2 separate regions of the Homo sapiens genome follow, and region 1 is linked to region 2. The links are contacts of gene promoters, found by promoter capture Hi-C in human tissues and cell types (Jung and others, 2019). All regions are on one chromosome and are shown on one strand. Each heading gives the region's core, a stretch centred on a gene start or on the middle of the fragment in contact. The rest is flanking DNA. Distances are from core to core; before and after follow the strand shown. Region 1 overlaps ANKRD28 (ankyrin repeat domain 28). Region 2 holds the start of GALNT15 (polypeptide N-acetylgalactosaminyltransferase 15).

The links. Contacts are between HindIII fragments. The study calls those that stand out against the background at their distance.
Region 1: a contact is called between a fragment that was not itself captured here and the fragment with the promoter of GALNT15 in region 2, in 2 of the 25 tissues and cell types used here (aorta and dorsolateral prefrontal cortex).

Annotation. Positions count from the first base shown.
Region 1 is chr3:15,667,602-15,675,308 of GRCh38, reverse strand. It overlaps ANKRD28 (ankyrin repeat domain 28), which reads left to right. Exons shown (of 28, transcript NM_001349278.2): 28 at 4,753-7,707. The coding sequence ends at 5,039. It also overlaps a transcript of BTD not described here. Among named protein-coding and RNA genes, the nearest start is that of MIR3134, 26 kb to the left of the region's middle. The HindIII fragment of the contact is 4,777 bases long and covers 219-4,995 here.
Region 2 is chr3:16,171,216-16,177,862 of GRCh38, reverse strand. It overlaps GALNT15 (polypeptide N-acetylgalactosaminyltransferase 15), which reads right to left and starts at 3,183. Exons shown (of 10, transcript NM_054110.5): 1 at 2,173-3,183. The coding sequence starts at 2,711. The HindIII fragment of the contact is 4,561 bases long and covers 2,208-6,647 here.

The DNA of each region.
Region 1 (7,707 bases), core at 1,358-3,857, 500 kb after region 2:
CTTCCATTCTTTTGTTGTTGTTGTTGTTGTTTGTTTTTGAGACGGAGTCTAGCTCTGTTGCCCAGGCTGGAGTGCAGTGCCATGATCTCGGCTTACTGCAACCTCCGCCTCCTGGGTTCAAGCGATTCTCATGCCTCAGCCTGCCCAGGTAGCTGGGATTACTGACACCTGCCACGACGCCTGGCTAAATTTTGTATTTTTAGTAGAGACGGAGTTTCACCATATTGGCCAGGCTGGTCTCAAACCCCTGACCTCAGGTGATCTGCCTGCCTTGGCCTCCCAAATTGCTGGGATTACAGGTGTGAGCCACAGCGTCCAGCCTCATTCTTCCATTCTCTCTTAATTTCCGTATAGTCAGGCCTTCTCCCCCTCACCCCTACACATAGCAAAACTGTTCCCATCAAAACCACCAATGACTTCTACTGTGTTAACTACTACTTAGCTCTCATTTTACTTGATAGATCAGCTTTTGGCACAACTGATCGTTTCCTTTGATAAATTTTTTTACTCTGCTTTTTGAACCCCACTCTTCCTTGGTTTTCCTTCTACATTACTAGTTATTCCTTCTTAATTTCTTTTACAAAATTTCTCCCTCTTCTTCTAGGACTCAATTCTTCGTTCTTTTTGCTTTCTCTATCTACATTGACTCCCTAGTGCTCTCATCAGTTCCTTTGGTTTTAAATACTACCTATAATGCTGAGGATTCCCAGATTTATATCTCCAGCCCAGACTTCTCACAGTCTCTATATATCCACGTGCCTAATTGACACATCCATGTGGATGTCTGATAAACAGCTTAAACCTAGAATGTGCAGAACTGAACTGTTGATCCTTTCCCACTCCCCTTGCCAGACCTACTCTCCCCACAGCATCATGCTCTCTCCATTGAAGACAATTCTCATTCTTAACAGTGGCTCAGGGCAAAACCCCTAGAGTCATCCTTGATTCCTCTCACTCATACTCAATGTATAGTCCATCAGCATATACTATTGACTCCACCTCTAAAGTAGATCTAAAGTATGCCCACTTTTTTCTTTACTGCTACCAGACTGACCTGGATCCTTTTAAAGTATATGAGAACATGTTACTCTTGAATTTCGGTTCTTCTTCTTTTTTTTTTTTTTTTTTTTTTTTGAAGAGGCAGGGTCTCACTCTGTTGCCCAGACTAGAGTACAGTGGTGAGATCATAGCTGATTGTAACCTTGAACTCCTGGGCTCAAGAGAACCTCTCACCTCAGCCTCCCAAGTAGCTAGCACTATAAGTATGCATCACCAGGCCTAGCTAATTTATTTTTTGTGCTGACAGACTCTCACTATATTGTCCAGGCCGGTCTTGAACTCCTGGCCTCAAGCAATCCCCCCACCTCAGCCTCCCAGAGTGCTCCACCTGGCCCCACTCATAGTTCTTAAAATGACCTTACTAGGCCCTACATGATGTGTCCTCCACCTTGTTACCTTTCTGATATTATTTCCTACTCTTCTCCTTTCTCTACTTCATTCTGCCATGCCAGCCCCTCCATAGCAGGGTTATACATGCATTGTGATCTTCATTCTGGCTGTTTACTCTGCCTGAACACTCTGTCCCCAAACATCCCATGACTAAATTCGTCACCTGTTTCAAATCTTAGCTCCAGTTTCATCTTCTCAATGAAGCATATTCTAACTATTCTTTACTACAACTTGCTAGATACCCCTACCATAGCATTCTCAGTCCTTGTTAACCTGCTCCACTCTTTCCTCTTTTTTTACATAAAGCTTTTAACATATTGTATATAATGTACTTTTTTGTTATGTTGATTTTGTGTCTTCTCCACTAAAGTGAATGTAAGCTCCACAAGAACAGTGAAATCTTTGTCAGTTGCATTCACTGATATATTCTTAGTGTTCTAAATAGTGCCTGAGCAAGTGGAGGCTCAGTGAATATTTGCTGCATGAGTGATTATGCCAAGCACTGTACTAACTTCTGATGATATAGTGTAAAATAAGACATAGTCTACTCCCTTGAATGGAGATAAGAGTGCAAACAGCCTATTAACGATGCACTTAAAATAGTTTAATTGGAATAAGCATAGAATGCTATGAGAGTACTTAAGAGGGTCTTCAAATCCTTTCTTGCAGGATCAGAGAAGGCATCCCAAAAAATGCAACTGCTAAGCCAAAATCCAAAGGATAAGGAGAAAGTGGGGGAGGAACTTTCTAAGCAAAGAGAGTGGCATGTTAAGAGATAAAACTGGCCGGGCATGGTGGCCCATGCCTATGGTCCTAGCACTTTGGGAGGCACAAGGCGAGTGGATCACCTGAGGTCAGGAGTTCGAGACCAGCCCCGCCAACATGGCAAAACCCCGTCTCTACTAAAAATACAAAAATTAGCCAGGTGTGGTGGCATGTGCCTGTAATCCTAGCTACTTGGGAGGCTGAGGCAAGAGAATCGCTTGAACCCAGGAGGCAGAAGTTGCAGTGAGCCGAGATCATGCCAGTGCACTCTAGCCTGGGTGACAGAGCCAGACTTCGTCTCAAAAAATAACCCCCATGCAGAGGAGAGGAGCCTGTTTTTAGTCATATTCTGACTAGAAAACACACCTGAAACAAGCTTCTTTCCCCACTCCCGCTCTCATCCAAGGCATCCTGGCCTATGTAATGGGTTGTTCTGCCTGCCAGCAGCAGGAACAGCAGCAGGCACCTTTAGAAGAACCCTTGAAAGAAGTGTGGGCAGTGAAGCACTCCCCCAGCTACTTTGAACAAATAAAATTTAATTAAAAATACGGACAGCCTTCAGCCACTGCTGCCAAACTTGGAAGGACATCAGTTGTTCTCTTTGACCCTTGACAAAATGGGAACTTTACAAAGGGGGAAAAATTACTTTTTGTGGCTGGGCACAGTGGCTTACTCCTATAATCCCAGCACTTTGGGAGGCAGAGGCGGGAAGATCACTTAAAGCCAGCAGTTTGAGACCAGCCTGGGGAACAAAGCGAGACCCTGTATCTACAAAAAAGTTTAAAAATTAGCCAGGCATGGCATGTGCCTATAGTCAGAGCTAGTCAGGGGGCTGAGGTGGGAGGATCACTTGAGCCCAGAGGTTGAGGGTGCAGTGAGCATGATCATTATACTGCACTCCAGCCTGGGTGACAGAACAAGACCCTGTCTCAAAAAAAAAAAAAAAAATCCTTTTTTTATCAAGGCCAATATAGCATAGATGAAAATATGTGGGAGAACTGGAAGCAACCAGATGCCCAGTAGTTGAAATGTATAACTAAACCATAGTATAATCACACAATGAAATACTGTATAACAATGAAAATGAACCAACTACAGTTACATACAACATTGATAAATTTCATATAATGCTACACAAAAATGCCAGATATGAAATAATACATACTACATGATTCCATTTATATTAAGTTTTTTAAAAACTCTAAACTGTAGGCTGGGTAAGGTGGTTCACATCTGTAATCCCAGCATTTGGGAGGCCGAGGCAGGCAGATCACTTGAGGCCAGGAGTTTGAGACCAGCCTGGCCAACATAGCGAAATCCCATCTCTACTAAAAATATAAAAAATTAGCTGGTCATGGTGGCACACACGTGTAATCCCAGCTACTCAGGAGGCTGAGGCAGGTGAATCACTTGAACCCAGGAGGCAAAGGTTGCAGTGAGCCAAGTTTGCACCACTGAACTTCAGCTTGGGTGACCGAGCAGACTCTGTCTCAAAAAAAAAAAAACAAAAAAAAAACTATAGTGTTTATGACTCCAAGTTGAAAGCAAGGAAATTACTACCCCATAAGTCAGGATAGTAGTTACCATTGTGGAAGAAGAAAGGTGTAACGACTGGGTAGAGGATATATGGAGGCTTCTGGTATGCTGGTAATGTTCTCTTTCTTAATCTGTATGGTGGTTATACAAATGTATGTTATGTGATAAAACTATTAAAGTTCCATATGGTATAATTGAAGCTTGGCATCACACTATTATCACTTCTCTCCCGCTCCGTCCTCAAGACTGAGTCTTGTACCAACTGAGGTACCAAATGTTTCCTCCTTGGTTTGCTGTGTTGACACTTTGTGGTAACTTACGACTAAGGTCAGTTGTCTTCCGCTTAAAAAAAGGGAATATTTACAAAGGAAATATTTGTTTTGATTTAGTAGTTTTTAAAGTTCATCTGCTTAGTTTGTCTACTGTTTTTCTTCAAGAGACTGTGACCCCAAGAGAAAAGTTAAATTGACAACTAAGTGTCATTCATTCAACACATATCTTTTGAGCACCTGCCCTGTGGCTGATTCATGAAGCTGTACACATTTAAGATTTCTTAGCATCAAAAAGTTTCCTTACATAACTACAAATTAAATTTTTTTATTTTTTCTTACCTTGACACTGATATAACTGCAAATTAACAGTAAATCTCTGCCTACCATCCTGAAAGAATATTCACGATATGTGGTGTTTTTCTTATTCTAGCCCAGTTTTTTCTGTGAATTCAGATGGATACGGATAAGTTGTGAGACCTTGGGGAATCATTCTTCTCTGGGCCTGCTTCCTCTTCTGTTGTCTAGTCTAACATCCCCTTCCACCCTAGGTTTCTATGGCTATTCTTTTTCTACTTATTAGAAACTTGCGAATCATGCTGGTTACAGCAATTTATTATAAGCTAAGTAATGTAAAATATGTCTAAAGTTGAAGTACTTTAGGCTTATTTCCTTGTCTTTGGTGAAATACATCTCAGGATGCTTAATTTTTAAATTTTATCTTTAATTCTAGGCTATACCCCAGCTTTGGCCTGTGCTCCCAATAAGGATGTGGCTGATTGCCTGGCTCTCATTTTGGCCACCATGATGCCTGTCTCATCAAGTAGTCCTTTATCATCCTTAACATTCAATGCCATTAACCGTTATACCAACACCTCAAAAACAGTCAGCTTTGAAGCTTTGCCCATCATGAGGAATGAACCTAGCTCCTATTGCAGTTTCAATAACATTGGAGGGGAACAGGAGTACTTATACACTGACGTGGATGAGCTCAACGACTCCGATTCTGAGACCTACTGAGAGGCTGAGGAGGAGGGAGTTCTCACAGTAAAGCTTCAAACTGTGCTTTTTCAGGAAAAAGGCACTTTGATATTCACGTAGAAATTCAACCTAAGAGGAAAGATCCCACAGTGAGCCAATGTTAAGAGATCTGATGGCATTAGGAGGAAGAGTTTTAAAGGCAAGTTTTACAAAAGGAACTTCTAGAATCTTGAAATAGACCTGACTGAGGAAAACACATTGATGTCAGAATTCTTTGTGGAATTGTTTAATTTGGTTTTGCAGTGCCAGGAACAATTGGGGACACTGTGCACTCTAACCTGCTTACACAAGCAACACTATTGTAACAGAAGAAATAAAGACACTAGATTTAAATTTTATCAATAAAATTACAACTAAATTTAAAGGCAATAAAAGTTTGGTACAGTAGGCATTATGTGCACAGCAAATTGCAAAAGGACCAAATAACTGAAAGGTTTTTTTAATAAAATGCCATTTTGTGGAAACTGGAGTAGATTAAATGAAACATTACCTAAACCAAACTGCAATATTTCTGGAAATGAAGCTGAGATTTGGTTTTAAATGTTGAGTTTTTTTGGGTTTTGTTTTTTTTTTAAGAAAACATCTGAAAGCCTTCCAATGCTGTATTAAACCATGAGAGAAAGCAGATGTATTTTTACATTTTTTTCTTTTACAGAACTATTTCAAATTTCCAATTTTTATACTATTAGAATTAAAAACCAGCTGACTGGGTGCAATACGGGTGAAAATACTTGTGACATAGACATTGAGATGGATTGGGGTCAGGCTGTTGCCCTGTTTTGAATGGTTTGGGTTTAAAATAGTACTATTTTTGTTTGAAAATGTAAAGAATTTCCTAGAAAAAAATTCATGAAATCAAAAAGTAGACTATTTCACCCTATTGCAGCTAAGTGGTCCTGGGGCATGGAGTCTTCAACCTCTCTATGAATGGCACACCTTAGTCACTTATGTTACTTTTGTGTCCCCACCATGGGTTGGGGGATTTTTTGTTTATTCTGATCTATGAGTTTTGAAAAAGTGAATAATCAAAAGGAAAATAATTCCTTGTTGTTCATAAATTAAGCATCACTAAAGTCTCTTGAAAGGCATTTCTGTATTGGGCAAGATTTAAAATACTAAAGCCTTAGGTCCTATTCATATTTAAAGTAGCATGTTTGTAACCTGTTACTATTTGGAGAGAGAAGCAGTTGCCTGCCAAATTGAAGACTACCTTTCAAATAGCAAAAGAGAGAGAGAAGGCTGATATTTCGGCTTTTAAATAAAGATTTGTGTGGTTCTGCTTTTACTGTAACTGTCACTTTCCCAGTGAAAATGATTTCATATACATTGAGGGTCTTACAGGTATGGGTAAAGTTCTATAAATTGCAACAAAATGATACCCAATTTCATTTTATCCTTTTTGTATTGTGAAACTGGAAACTTTATGACATTGTAAATTATCAGCTGGTTTTTCTGAATATAAAGTGTGAAAACACAGAACAGTATTTTGATCTATTTGATAATTTTGTGGGTTTTTTGAAGAATTAATGAGCATGTACATAGAAATAGTGACTGCTTGAATACTGTATTTACTTGCACTCTTTCAGTACATCAAGATTCCTGTATATTTTAGAGTATAATAAAACACAGATGTGAGTTGTATTTAATGAATAATGTATTTGTATCTGTGCATATTATCTACAAATCTATAAAGTTTCTAGGGCATTGACTACTAGATTTTAAGCATTTTTTCTAAAATATTTACAGAAATTATAAATCTAATCCCCCATCTTTTCTTTATAATATAAAGAAGTCATAATGAACCCTTCCTAATTATTAGTAGTAGGAAGGTGAATATGCATTTTAATGACAGTGGACTACATTTTCTATTGTACCTTTTGAAAAAAAAAAAAATCAAGCAGATTCTAAAAGTATACATATGTGTGCTTTCTCTTTCCTTTTAGGAATTCTCTTCTGAATTCCCTGAGGGAATTTTCTAGAATCTCAGAATTGAAAGAGACCTGAGGTTCATCCAGTCTCTAACCTCTTAACAAATGCAGGAGTCCCTTCTACAAGGGTGATCTTTCCACCTTGAACACTTCCAAGTGACTCTACCTCACCAAGCAGTCCATTCAGTTGTTGAGCAGCTCTAACTGTTAGAAAGGTCTTCCTTAGATGGAGTTGAAGCCTCCCTCCCGGTAACTTCTGTCTTTGGGCCTGGGTCTGTCCTCCAAGAGAACCCTGAGAATGTTGGAAGGATGAATCTCGCACATTCTGCCATGTCTTCTCTTTTACAGGCTGTTTGACTTCTCTGCTGAAGTGATTTCCAGAAGGACTCATTTGACACACTATTAGATTTACCACATCTAATGAAATCCAAGGTGTAGCTATAAAGTGACAAGCTGTTTTTAATTTATCACATACACCAGAACTTCTATCCTGCATCACTTATATGTAAATGATGCTGTTACCAAAAACATTAAGGTAGTTCTTGCGAATGCCACCCCACTAAGAAAACTATTTCATTACTTTTGTAATCCATCTGTGAGAGTCTGCCCCCCAGCTTAACCACTTCCTTTGGTCTGCACCCAATGAAGGGAAACCCCAAAGTACTGTCTCAAATGGTATTTGAACTACGCCAGTATTGTTGGAATAAGTACATTAATTA
Region 2 (6,647 bases), core at 1,934-4,433:
CACAACACACTTGTACATATATGCATATCCCATTCACACAATGCATTTATAGCACAATGCACCACAGAAGCACATCATACACAAGAAACACAGTTACAACACAATACCTGTGCACACATGCACCACGTGAACATATGCAAAACAAATAGCAAACTGCAACACACACCCAGATGAACAATGCATGTGGCATCACCCCAATACACAATACATATATGAACCATGCACATAATACATGCACATTAACACACATGCACACAAGATGACACATTGCACAATGCATAGCTGTGCATATCATATCACATACACAAAGTAACATGCACCAAGCATATAGGCACCACATAACGCAGTACCTGCATGTACTACACATACATGCACGACATCCATTTAATACACATAATGCAATGCACACACAACACAGAGAATATATACAACACACATGCACGAACATACATATACCATGACCCACAAATATGCATATTCACCACACATTTGCACTATGCAAACACACAGTCACACACACAGACCACTTTGGTAGCCACAGACCCTCTCGTTTCAGGCAATATTATTTCTTATCGGCAAAAAGAGGATGCTCACTCTTGCTCCAGGCCAGTGAAAAATAGTGTCAAAAAATTTGAAAACTATGTTTGTTCATTCAGCAATCACTTCTTTACTGCATGTTGGGCTTTGGGATGTACAATACAAACTCAGTCCTGACCTTCTAAGGGGCTCACAGCATAGCAGGGAAAGCAGGCATTCGACTGATAAATACATCAATAATCATTTGGCTTTAGTTTTGTAAGTGCTGTGAGTTAAAACTCCAGGGTGCAAGGAGGGCACAAAACTAGAATGGGGTGGGAATTTCCTGAAAATAGCTTTTAAAGGTAAGGCTTGAAAACAGTGTAGCGGGTTTGAAATGGAAGTAGGGTGCGGTGAGTGAGGCACCCGGGGCACACAATTTAAGGAGATGTTCACTCCCGGCTGCTGACCCTGCAATTGCACACCCTCGAGTGTGAGTGGCTGAGCAGCCAGGCTGAGGGGAACTAGATCAGGGATCCGAAGAGTGTGTGGCCCTGCTTCCAACTGCTGCCCTGCACAAATGTTTGCTTTCCAGGAAACTCTCCAGGCTCTGGGAGGAGCAATGGCCTATAGGAAAAGGGACCTAAATCACCAAACTAAAACTAACAAGCTGCCTTGCTCCCTGGATGCTGGTAACCAAGGCTCCCTCCTCAGTGGTCAGCCATGGTGACAGTAAGGGAGCAGGGGGTGTGGAGGATGGGCCAGCATCTCCCTGGGCACAGCTCTGCCCATCACCTACACTTCTCAGCTTACCTCCTGGGGCTGGGGCTGCCCTGGCAGGGTAAATTGCAGTCAGCACAGTATTCTGGCTCTCAGGCACTGGACCTGTTTCCTTAGTCTAGTGGCCCAAGGCAGGTGGCATGGAGTGGTGGGTCAGGCAGACTGGAGCTCACATGCCTGCATTCAAATCCTGACTTTGTTACCTACTAGCAGCGTGACTGGGAAAGCAACTTCACCTTGTTTTCATACCTATAGAATAAGCATGATGATACTACTAGCACCCATCTTGCAGAGCTGTGAGGACTTTCCAGGACTTTATGAGTTAATACATTAAAAGCTTGTAAAGTAAATCCAGACGCATGGGAAGAGCCCCCTAAATGTAAACTGCAATTGTTATTTTGATCCAAACTAAAAGCAAACACTAACAATAACCCTAAAATCAAAATGTAGTGGAGTCAGAGTGTTAGAACTGGCAAATGTCTGCTCTAACCTCCCTTCTGTGTTATAGAAATAAAGCCATTTGACCTAAAGACAGAAGAACTAGAACCCAGGACGGAGAAGAGAATGAACAAGCAAGAGTCCTCACTTTCTGCTTTCTAGGACAATGATTCTCACCTGAAGGGCTTGTTCATACAGACCACTGGACCCCACCCAGAGTTTCTTGTTTGGCAGGTCTGGGATGGGGTCTGAGAATCTGCATTTCTGAGAACCCACCAGTGCCCAGGGGCTGCTGACGCTGCTGGCCCAGGTACTGCATCTTGAAAAGCACTTGCTCTAAGTCAGGAGAGGCAGGCTACGGAAAGTTTGCATTCCCGAGTTTGCTACCACCCGATCATGCCCTGGGATCAGGGAAGGGAAAACAAGGGCCTTACTTACAGTGGGTGCCGCACCTCGGGCAGAGCCCTCTGGAGGGGGATGCGGGCACTGAGTGCCTCCTGGAGGCCACGTGGGTCCAGGCTGAACGGGGTCAACTCCTCTTCTTCAGACACCTCCCCGTCCTCATCAGCCCCCCAGTCCCTCTTTGGGGCTTCCTTATCCTGCCTCCTTGGCTGCTTGATGAGGCGGTAGCTCCCACCTCTCCTGCCCTGGCTCTGGTTCCTTCTGGCCTGGGGTAAGGCCACGGCCACCAGCAGCTGATCCTCCCGCAGTGAGATAAAGGGTGGCAGGCCCTCCAGAGGGCTGTACTCTTCACCCTCATCCTCAGCTTCCAGTACCCAATCCTGGGATTCCCCAAAGTCCAGGCGGTACCTGGCTTCAGGGCTGTGCTTGCTGGCTTGGGCTGTGACAGTCTGGTGCAGGGTGTGGTGGGGAGGGTGCAACATCGCCACCATCATCAGGACGCATCCCAGCATCAGGAGCAGCAGGAGGAACTGGAGTCTGCATGGTCTGTGCCTGTATCGCTTCCTTAGGAGCATGTTGCTAGAACTTGCCAAATGCAACAGGTCATGTTCAAGTTAGCTTTCTCCCGCTCCAGGCTCCTTCAAGCTTGCAGCAGAACCTGGGTTGCTTGTTCCACCTGGAAGTTTTTCTGCCAGTCACTTAACCTGGTCCTGACATTTGCCAACAGCGTGTGCAAGACCTGCTTCCACTTACAATCAGAAAACCACAGGACCCAAGTTTCACCCCAAGTCCTCTCTGAGTGGATTTCTTTAATTGCCTTCTGAAAGCCCATTCACAGGGACTTCAAATTGAATTGCTTCCCTCCCTTTACCCCGGTTTTCTCCTTGGGAAAAAAATAATGATTCCATTCTGCTCAGGTGTTTCTTTCCCCCTTTGTATAAATAGGTTGCTATGAGGTGTCTGGGATGAGCTGGTGGGTTCTCAGTCAAGCAGGGCTGACAGCCGTCCCTCTTTGGACGCTTCCAGTCAGGTCAGATCAACAGATGTAAAGCCGGCAGGCAGTGCCTGGTTTCCTTTCACACATAGCTCCACTCAGCCGAGAGCCCTCTGCCAGACACAACCCAGAGCCAAGCGTGCGCGTCACTCCTGGTCCTAATGCCCTCACTGTTCCCAGGCTTTGCACAACTCGGTGTGGTCACTGCTAGAGCCAAATCAAAACAGGAATATCCCAAGAGTTCAGAAGGAAAGACTAATACCCTCTGATTCAGAAAGGCTGTGTGTGTGGCATAGCTGCAAGGAGCTGCAGCTGTCTGTTTGCAACCTCAGCCTCCCATGGGGGATCAGGCAAACTAGGTTGGACTCTCCTTCCCTTCCTGGGGACCACTGTCCCTGGCCTCCTGAAAATGAGGGAGCTAAGGGAGATGATCTTGCAAGTCCCTTCTTCTCCCACAAGAGCAGCTGAATGCCTGCTCTGCCCTGGCCACCAAGGGGGACGCTGGAAGAGGAGTGGCATGCTCTTTCCCTCATAAAGCTTCCTTCATTTAACCAACACATAATTAATGAACACATGCTATGTGCCAAAATTGTTCTGGGAACTGGAAGTAGAGCAATGAATAACACAGACAAAAATGTGTGTCTCATGGAGCTTGCATTCTAGTGACAGATACAATTAAAACTATCCACTGGGTCAGATAGTGATGAGGATGAAGGCAAAAAAGCAGAGCAGGGATGGGGCTGGGGAGCATGGGCTGGGCTTGGAAATGGACATTGAGTGGTGGAGAAAGGTTTCATGGAAGAGTTACCATTTGTGTAAAGGAGAGGGCTGCACAGCTATTTGAGGTTGAGTGTTCGGGGCAGACAGAATGATAAATGTGAAGGTTCCAAGGCAAGAGTATGCTGGCATGTCTGAGGAACAGCCGGCATGGCTGAAGCAAAGAGAGCAGGGTGGAGCCTGATGGGAAGTGGAATAAGAGAGGCAAGGGGGCGGGGGGCAGGAGGACCATGCAGGACACCCCCTGGTTGCATTGAAGGAACTTTGGCTTTTCCTCTGAGTGAGAGGGGAGCCCTTAGAGGAGAGACACAATCTGACTTGGGTTTTAACTGGATCATTCTGGCTGCTGGGTTGAGACTAATCAGTGGGGGGCAAAAAGCAGGAGCAGGGAGACCAACCAAGAGGTTCTTGGCTTGCACTAAGTGGCATCGGTGGTGACAGGGGTCAGCTTGTGGATATACTTTAAGGAAGAACCTATAGGATTTGCTGATGAATTAATGACTAATGTGAGAGGAAGAGAAGAGTCAAGATGAGTTCAAATTTTTGTTCTGAGTAGTTGGAAGAATAGACTTGCCATTAACCAAGATGGGGAAGGAGAGAAGGTGGAAGGAGATGAATGCATGCCAGTGGCTTGATTTGGAACATGTGACATTCGAGATGTCCTCTAGACAGCTAAGAGGAGATGAAGTGAAGGCAGCAGTTGTAGGATAGCTGAAGGTCAGGGGGAGGTCTGGCCTGCATATACAAAGCTGGACTCCAGCAGCACTCAGATAGTGTTTGAAGCCGTGAGACCTGAGATCACTGAGGGAGTGAGGTAGGTAGAAGGGAGAAGAGAATCCAGCATGCTCAGTTTTCAGGCTTCTGGCTTGAACAGGTTGAAGGATAGCTGACCATCACCATGAGCAGTGTTTCTTCTGATGGCTGTAAAGCAGCCATGCTGTCTGCAACCAAGAGTGGAGGGGGGAAAACTGCCATTGGGGAAGTCCTGCAATGAACTTGCTCATTGTTTTTGTCTTTATTTTGATCTTAGAATGTCAGCTAAAATGTTTGTGGAAAAAAATGTTTTACCTTTTGACTCAGTTGTTTCTTCCAGTGTGTGTGGTGTGTCTGTGCACACTCACGTGCACAAGCATGTATACACGTGTGTTTTCATGAAGTCAGAGGTGAAATAGTGGGTTATGTGTGGTTGTTCTCCTGGAATCCCATTGTAATGCCCCAGTGGACAGTGCTTAGCAATTTCTGGATTGAATTGTGTCTTCCAAATCTCAAATCACGGTGTATTGCCAGGTGGGAATACTGTGTCATTTCCAAATTCAAGAGGCAGACACCCTGGGAGATGTAGTTCAGAATATCTGGGGACATTTTGAGGTTAATGAGGATGAAGGATTAGAAGGTTCCAAATCCAGGAGGCCTTCAGAAAACTGAGTGTGCAGAGTCACCATCTTCCACTCATCTCTAGCAACGCTGTGCTTGAACTTACCAAGAACAGCCCACCCCAGGGCTGTCACCCTGGCCAGCCCACTGCTTGAGCACTCTTTCCCCAGAAAGTCATCCATATGGCTCATTTCTTCATTTTTGTGTTCCCCAGAAAGTCATCCATGTGGCTCATTTCTTCATTTTTGTGTTCACTCCAATGTCACCTATTTAGTGAAGGCTTCGTGGACCCCCCATTCTACATTGAAACCCCTCATCAACATGGGGCTTTCTTTGAGAATCTCTGTGGCTCTTCTCAACACCTGGAAAATTAAAATACTAAGGTGTTTATTGTCTGTTTCTCCACCCACTCCCATAAAACATAAGCTCCACAAGGGTAGGGCTTTTGTTTGCTTGTTCACTGCTGTTTTTCCAGAGTACACAAAGCACATTTTTCCACTCCCCAGGCCTTTGCTGCTGTCCCTGACAGCTTTGCTGCCAGTTCTTCCCATCCCCCACCATCACTTGGCACATGAGGCCCAGACCTTGCTCCCTTCTCCTCTCTTTCTCACCCTTGCTCCTATCATGGGTTGAATCGTGTCCTCCAAAATTACACTGAAGCCCTGCCTCTGCTGGGGAACCTGTGAAGGGGGCCTTGACAGCAAATAGGATCTTTGTAGATTATCAGGTTAAAAGGAGGTTGTTAGGGTGGGCCCTAATCTAATATGACTGGTATTGTTACAAAAAGGGGACAATTGGGCAGAGACAGGCATACACAGAGAACATCATGTGAAGAAGAGGGCAGACCTGGGTGACACATCTAAAAGCCAAGGAATATCAAAGATGGCCAGGAAATCACTGATAGCTAGGAGAGACATGAAACAGACTGTCCTTCACAGTCCTAAGAAAGAACCAGCACTGCCAACACCTTGATCATGGACTTCTTGTTGCTACAACTGTGAGATCATACATTTCTGTTATTTAAGCCACCCACTTGTGGGACTTTGTTATGGCAGCCGCAGGAAACGGATACAGTTCCTCTTGCCCTCCCCACCCTCCCACCCTCCTCTGCCTTCTCTCAACTCTTGCTCTAGCTCTGTCATTTCCATCTCTCCTTCTCCCATTCCATCTCCTTCCTCAACCTCTAGTGAGGTTAGGCATCACACTAACCTCCTCAGCCCATGGCCTTCCCATGACAGAGACAGCCCATGAAAAAAGGCTCCCAAAAGAACTGGGGCTGGGTGACTCTGGCCTGGGATTCTTGGCTCCAGTTCAAGATAAACTAGATCTGGTGAAGTCCCAGATGCAGGCCGTGGGTCTCTCCTGG